Regions from separate parts of the Homo sapiens genome. Here region 2 is linked to region 1. Evidence: promoter capture Hi-C in 16 types of primary human blood cells and fetal thymus (Javierre and others, 2016). All regions are on one chromosome and are shown on one strand. The core of a region is centred on a gene start or on the middle of the fragment in contact, and the rest is flanking DNA. Distances in the headings are between cores, read along the strand shown.

Region 1 (3,156 bases), core at 473-2,972:
AGACACGGGCGACGCCTCCCTCTGTGAGAAAGAGCACGTGAATTGCTGGCCGGTTGTCATTCACGTCCAGCACGGCGATGGACACGCGCACCGTGGCAACCTCAGGCTCGGCGCCTCCATCGCGGGCCTCCACCACCAACTGGTGCCAGGCCTGTGCCTCGCGGTCCAGAGGTCTCCACACTCGCACCACGCCGCTCAGCTCCTCCACCGCGAAGTAGGCCGCGTCGCCCAGTGCCCCGCCGCCGCTACCCGCCCCAGGCACTTGCCGGGCGCGGACGCTGTAGCGCACGAAGCCATTGGGCCCCAGGTCGCGGTCGGTGGCGCGCACGCGACAGACCTCGGCGCCCGGCTGGGCGTCCTCGCGCACCGCGGCGCGGTACTCGTCCTGCTCAAAGACCGGCGGGTTGTCGTTCTCATCCAGCACGCGCAGCTCCACGCTCAGGAGGCCGGTGCGCCGGGGTCGGCCGCCGTCCCATGCCTCGATCTGCAGCCGGTGCGCCGCCGCCTCCTCTCGGTCCAAGCGCCGCAGCAGCACCAGATCTAGAGGCTCCAGGGGTGACGAGGAGCCTGGCAAAAGCGGTGACGGTAGTGGCCCCGGAGTCCGGTAGCGCAACTGGAAGAACGGGCCTGCGGGGTCCTTGGGCAGGTCGGACGGTTGCACCAGGGTGTAGCCCTGAGTGCTGAACAGTCCGGCGTCCGGATCGTGGGCAACTGGCAGGCGGAAGGCGGTCCCTGGCGGGCTGAGCTCGGAGACGTCGAGTTGCAGGGAGTCGAGGGGAAAGCGGGGCGAGTGGTCATTCACGTCGTTGACGCGAATCTCCACCTGCACCACAGCGCCCAGCAGCGTGGCGGCGACGAAGCTGTAGTGGTCCCGCCGCTCGCGGTCCAGGCGCCGCGCAGTGCGGATGATGCCGGTGTCCGGGTGCACGTGGAAGTCGTCCAGCAGCGGGGAGTCATCGGAGTCCTCCGACAGAAAGAAGCCGCTCCCCTCCTGCTGCTGCGCGGCCGGCAGCCCGGCGCGGATGTCACCTACCAGCGTGTCCGGGGGAAGCCCCTCATCTACGGAAAGGGTGAGGTTGAACAACTGGGCAGAGGAGCCCGAGGCCGCCCACAGCCACACGTGCACCAAGAGCCAGAGCAGGGAGCGCTGCGTCCTGGCGCCGCTGCTGCCTGACCGCCCATGGGGTGTATCTCTCCTCCCGGGGAGCAGAAGGAGCTTCCCGACCGGAGCCCGCCGCTGCTGACGCCCTTCGCCCATCTTCCGCCCACAAGGGCTCATTTCTCCTCCAGCTCCTTGGGAAGGCTCTCGGGTAACTGCCAGCTTGTGGCAGGATCGCAGAAAAATCCAGGAGCCTCTTCAGTGTCTGAGCCAGAGAAGAAAAGACTTTGTTTGGCAAACAAACCGACGGCCCAGGAATTCCCGAGGTTACATCTGCAACTGGTGAAAGCGTCCTCTGCCTGCAGCTCACGCAGACAGGGAAGTAAGCTCTAGCTGCCTCTGCCGCGGCAGCCACCTCTTCTGCCCCTGGATTTCTTTAAACGAATCTCATCTCTTTTTCTCTCTCCTTTTATTCCCTTTACATCTGTTCCTTGTTCTACTCGGCTGGTTGTTCCCCCCTGGTAAAGTCAGGTGCATTATTTCTTTTGCCAAAAAGGAGGAGATTATATGAAGCGCGCACACACAAGGAGAGGATGGGGATCTGGCCGGAGTAGGGGGTGGAGTAAGGGCGTGGAGGCAGGGAGTCAGGGCGCTGGGGAGGAGGGAGAGAGGGAGGGGGGAAGGGAGGTCTGCGGCCCTGTCCGCTGCTCCGGGGGCGGGGCGGTGGTTCCCCACTGTGTCTCCGGGCGCCAGGGACCGCGCGACTCCTGCTCCGACCCAGCCTCCGCCGCCTGCCTTCCCCTCCCTGCCGTGTGATGCGGCGCACACGAGGGCAAACTCCAACCTGCGAGCCGCGCTCTGCAGCAGGGCGGAAGAGGAGCAAATGCAAAAGCACTGGGAGACGTGCACCGCGGGGCGGGTGGGGGACGCGCAGGCGGGGCGTCTGCCTGGGCTTGGCCAAGTGCCAAGTGATGATGGGTGCGGGGAGGTGAGAGGAGCGGCCTCTCCGCGGCCTCCCCCTCCATCCGCTTGACCGTCCCTCTGCAGGCCTGACTCTTGGCTCGCGCTGAGCCAAGAGGGTAGAGGTTATCATCACTTTGGGGTGCCAAACTTGTGTTCTCCATTTGGCGAGAGGGACTCCCGTCCGCAGCGGAAGGACAGATGGAGTCAAAGGCCGATGCATAGCTGGGGCCAGGATGGCTTTAAAGGGGAGAAGGCGGAACTTGGAAAAGCCTTCCAGAAAACCCGAGAAATCTGTGGCACACATGGTGCAAACCACACTTTATTATGCGTGCTACTACCCAGCGACGTGTGAGCCTCTTGTCACTCCCCTCTGCCACCAGGAATGACGACAATATATCCGCCCTGAGAACCCTTTTTCTACATTCAGCGCCATCATAACACTTCCAGGATGTCTGACGATGCTGACTGATGAGCAGAAAGCCCTGGTGGCTGACACCCCGCAAGCCCTCAGCGCTCCCCCACCACCCCTAGGCAAGGAAGTGTGCAAGCGGGATAACTCTACGGATACCACTTTCAAAACTAGCTTCTGTCTGAGCCGAACGCAAATGCCAATAAATAGCCATAGTCGCAGATTTCCCTTCAATTAACTATAATAATCGGTAGAAACTGATCAATGGCCTCTAATAAAGTACGCCTGAGAAAAGACTCTCTGGACTCTTAAAAATGGCTGACCATATTTAGCAAGTGGTTTCTGCAATTTTGCATTTGGGCCTGAGAGAAGAATTAATTTCCTAGATACCGTTTCTCTCCTTTAGGGAGGACCAAAAGCCCTGCATAGTGGTTTCTTGCAGCAACAACAAAATGCCTTTTTAAATGTGCAACGGAGGTGTATGTAATTGCTAATCCACAGCCACACCGTTATCTCTACCTGTGACCAAATAACAATAAAATAATTGACTTTGTAGCATATATGTTACCGAAAATGGGGACATTATTAAAATAAATTCAGCTTTCTTTCCCCCAATGAACTCTCTTTAACCATTAAAGAGATTTGTTATGAGTCTTTAGAGTCTTTTTATCTTCAGTCTCTGCAT
Region 2 (3,528 bases), core at 140-2,639, 140 kb before region 1:
TACACCAATGCACCACCAACAACAGACATAACACTAATTTAAATATTCAGTTTAAAGGAAATAATTTACTTAAAGCAAAACCCAAAACCCTTGAAGACCTGAACCTGACAGTGGTCCTCACAGTTGCGGGAGTACCATGGAAAGGTCATAAATTTGGCAATAATTGAGAAAAGAATCGAGTATTATTTTAAGATAACATAATTTTAGAAAGGTAATATAGTAAGTTGGATCATGTCTCACCAAATTTATGTCCACTTGGATCCTCAGAATATGACCTTATTTGGAAAAGGGTTTTTGTAGATATAATTAGTTAAGGATCTCAAGAGGAAATTATCCTGGTTTTAAGGGTGCCCTAAATCCAATGACCGGTGTCCACACACAAGGAAGGACACAAGAAGACACAGAAAAGAAGGACATGCAAAAATGGAAACAGAGATGAGAGTAACACTGCCATAGACCAAGGAGTGCCAAAGATCACCAACAAACACCAGAAGCTAAGGGAGGTTCCAGAAGAAACTAATCCTGTTGACACCTTGATTTCAGACTTCTGGCCTCCAGAACTGTTAGAGAATGAGATTCTGCTGTCTAAGCCACCCAGTGCGTGGTGCTTTGTTATGGCAGCCCTAGGACATGAACACCAGCAGGAGGCGTATGGTAAGGTGGGAACTCTGAAGCCAGACTGTCTCAGTTCACATTTTGGTTGTCACTTTCTCATTACGTTTATGGGCTGTTGATCTTTTTTGGATTCATTTGCTCATTTGTGAAATGGAGATAAAACTAGTTCCTATATCAAAGGTTTGGCATGACAGTTAAATCAGGCAGTTAATGCTCAATAAATATTGCCAAAAGACAAAATGACAACAAATTTAGTTTAAAGATCTTAATTGGCTTTTATTTGCAATTCTAGAGTTGAGAAACACCTCGATGTGTTCCAGTGAGCTGAGCAGAAGTGGCTGGCTTTATAGACAGAAAAGGAAAACAGAAACAGGGAACAAAAAGTCATTTCACAGTTACTTTCCTTGTAAAGGTTAAATCAGATGGGACTTTCTTATCATGCCAGCTAAAATTGGCTCATTTGGGGGTTTGGCTATTTATTATCCCTCTCTCTCCTGATTTCTTGGAAGGTCAAATAGACAACTTCATTTCAGCTTGGTGGCCATGAAACTTTAGCGTGAGTGACTCCATTTTGGTCTGGTCTGTTGGGCCTAGCGCAGGAGCTCCGTTCAAACCAATGACTTCCTATAAATTTTATTTAACAACACTCATTATGATTTACAGACTGTGTTTCTATGTCCCTGTATTTCAAAAGCATATTATTTCTGCCTTCTCCTTACTTCATGGGAGGATTTGTGACAATGGACACAAACTAATATTTTTATAAACATGGTGAATATGACTAAACCTTTGTTTCTATTATTACTATCCTTTCATGTCTACTTAGGGTTCAACAACTAAGGGAAATCACAGCCTTTATGGTAAAACTCATGCATTTTTTGTGTGACAGTTGTAACCAAATGCTGATTCACATGATATGTATTTAAACGTGTTGCTACGATTAACAGATAGTTGATGAATACTATTTAATTAATAAATCAGAAGCCTTATTTTGGAGTTTTAGAAAAATAAAAGTTAGAAAATGCATAGCTAGTTCCAGAAATAAAATACCTGTGAAATGATGATAAATAAAAATGCCTTCCACTTCCTTTCATTTCATTCTATAGTCTTGGTTCTATCTCTGAGTCTGGAATCTGCTCATTTGAAATTTTCCATTGTGATAAGGTGAGCAGGTCCTGGCTGCTCCACCTACTGGTGTTACTTGATAGAAATCATGAAACTTCTCTCAGCAACTGCTTCTTCATTGGAAACATAAGGAAACGCGTAGGCTCTACCTTACAGATCTCTGAGGAACTCAGCTAACAGGACACAAGTAAAGAAAGAACTGTAGCATGAGCACATGGTGACTGTTCAATAACTTTCTGAAAAAGTTGTTCTTATCTCCAAGACATATTACCCTGAATTTCTTTGATTTTAATTACCTTAACATGAAAGCTCTCATCACAAGCCACAACTTAGATTATACATCTAACAACTAGCACCAAAAACAAGCAAATCATTGGAAAATATCTCTGCAGAAAGGACTACATAATTAAAGAACAATCTGTGAAGATCTGTAGTTTTTTTTAAATTTTTTTTCAACTTGAAGGTGAAACTGTACATCTATGCTTTGCCAACTGACTACTTTCTGGGGCTGATTTGAGTCATGTGCACACACTGGTCCCCAGACACACAAAACAGAATCAAGGCCTTGGCTTACAGTGACATTGCATCTGTAAGAGCCATGTAAATACCTGCTACTTGGTATCTTCTACATCTTAGATATTTATTTTTATTCTAAAGCCAACCTACATATCCATAACTGCACAGCAACCATTTATACATCTCTATATTTGTGATTTTGATTTTTAGGCAACACTTACCATCTATTTTTTTTGCTATCAATCTCATCACAAAAGGTATAATCACATGTATTTTGTATATTGGAAAGTAAATTTACCAATATTAACTTTAGGTAGAAGATGTCAGAAAATCCTTTTAATATTATTTTTGACCTTTATTTTCACCAACAGCAATAGGTTAGTGTCCATTAAAAAGATGAGCTTTACAAAAGTGCAAGGTTTCAAAAATTATTTGAGAAGTCAGATCTCAGGGAAAATGCAGGAAAAGAAGGGATGGCCAGAGGTTCAGGAAGAGGGACACCCATTGGCCATGCCTTCAAGAAGTTCTTGTTCTGGTTTGCTGACATGAAAGCTATGTCAAGGAAACTGCCTTCTAGTGATGAAAAGATTCATTTAGACAATGGCATTTGTGACGGATTTGTCTTATGTTCAGCATGACCAGTGAGAAGCAGAGGGATTTGGGGAATGGTGGACAACAGGTGGGAAAAAGGGGGCAATTGAAGGAAAAGCTTTTAAGTGACTCCAATAAAGTATGTACCAAAAGATGGTCCTTTTGTCAGGAAAATGCTAATAAGGGATTACACTACAGACTCTCAATGGGAGTGTAAAGAGGAGTTGTGTGGGCAAATTTGGAGGGGGTTGTAGTCTAGAAAGCATATTCAAATACTTGCCATTTTTATAATACAGTTCAAAAATTGCAGAAATTAATGCAACTGCAATAAAAACATTACAAAAATATTTAGAGTGGTATTATTACTGAAAATAGAAATCTATAGATGATATAGGTTTAGCAGATTGAAAAATGCTGCCTTCATAAACAGTTTCTTCTGAATAGATGCCTTCTTATTTATACAATAGTTTTTAGCTATTCAATATATTTAACCTCCAAATCAGTGATCCTCAACCTTTTTGGTACCAGGGACCGGTTTCGTGGAAGACAATTTTTCCACAGGACAGGGCTGGCGGGGGAATGGTTTCAGGATAAAAGTGGTCCACCTCAGATCATCAGGCATTAGTTAGATTCTCATAAGGAGCACGCAACCTAGATCTCCTGCACGCACAGTTCATAATA

What was found. Contacts are between HindIII fragments. The CHiCAGO score rates a contact against its expected background, and 5 or more counts as called.
Region 2: a contact is called between a fragment that was not itself captured here and the fragment with the promoter of DCHS2 in region 1, in 1 of 17 cell types (naive B cells). The highest score is 6.2, in naive B cells.

The regions. Positions count from the first base shown.
Region 1 is chr4:154,490,077-154,493,232 of GRCh38, forward strand. It overlaps DCHS2 (dachsous cadherin-related 2), which reads right to left and starts at 1,723. Exons shown (of 20, transcript NM_001358235.2): 1 at 1-1,723. The coding sequence starts at 1,279. RefSeq lists enhancers at 1-507, 508-1,463, 932-1,071, 1,122-1,301, 2,104-2,153. The HindIII fragment of the contact is 6,491 bases long and covers 1-3,156 here.
Region 2 is chr4:154,348,231-154,351,758 of GRCh38, forward strand. The region is part of intron 3 of DCHS2 (dachsous cadherin-related 2); the gene reads right to left. Among named protein-coding and RNA genes, the nearest start is that of DCHS2, 140 kb to the right of the region's middle. The HindIII fragment of the contact is 3,147 bases long and covers 1-2,963 here.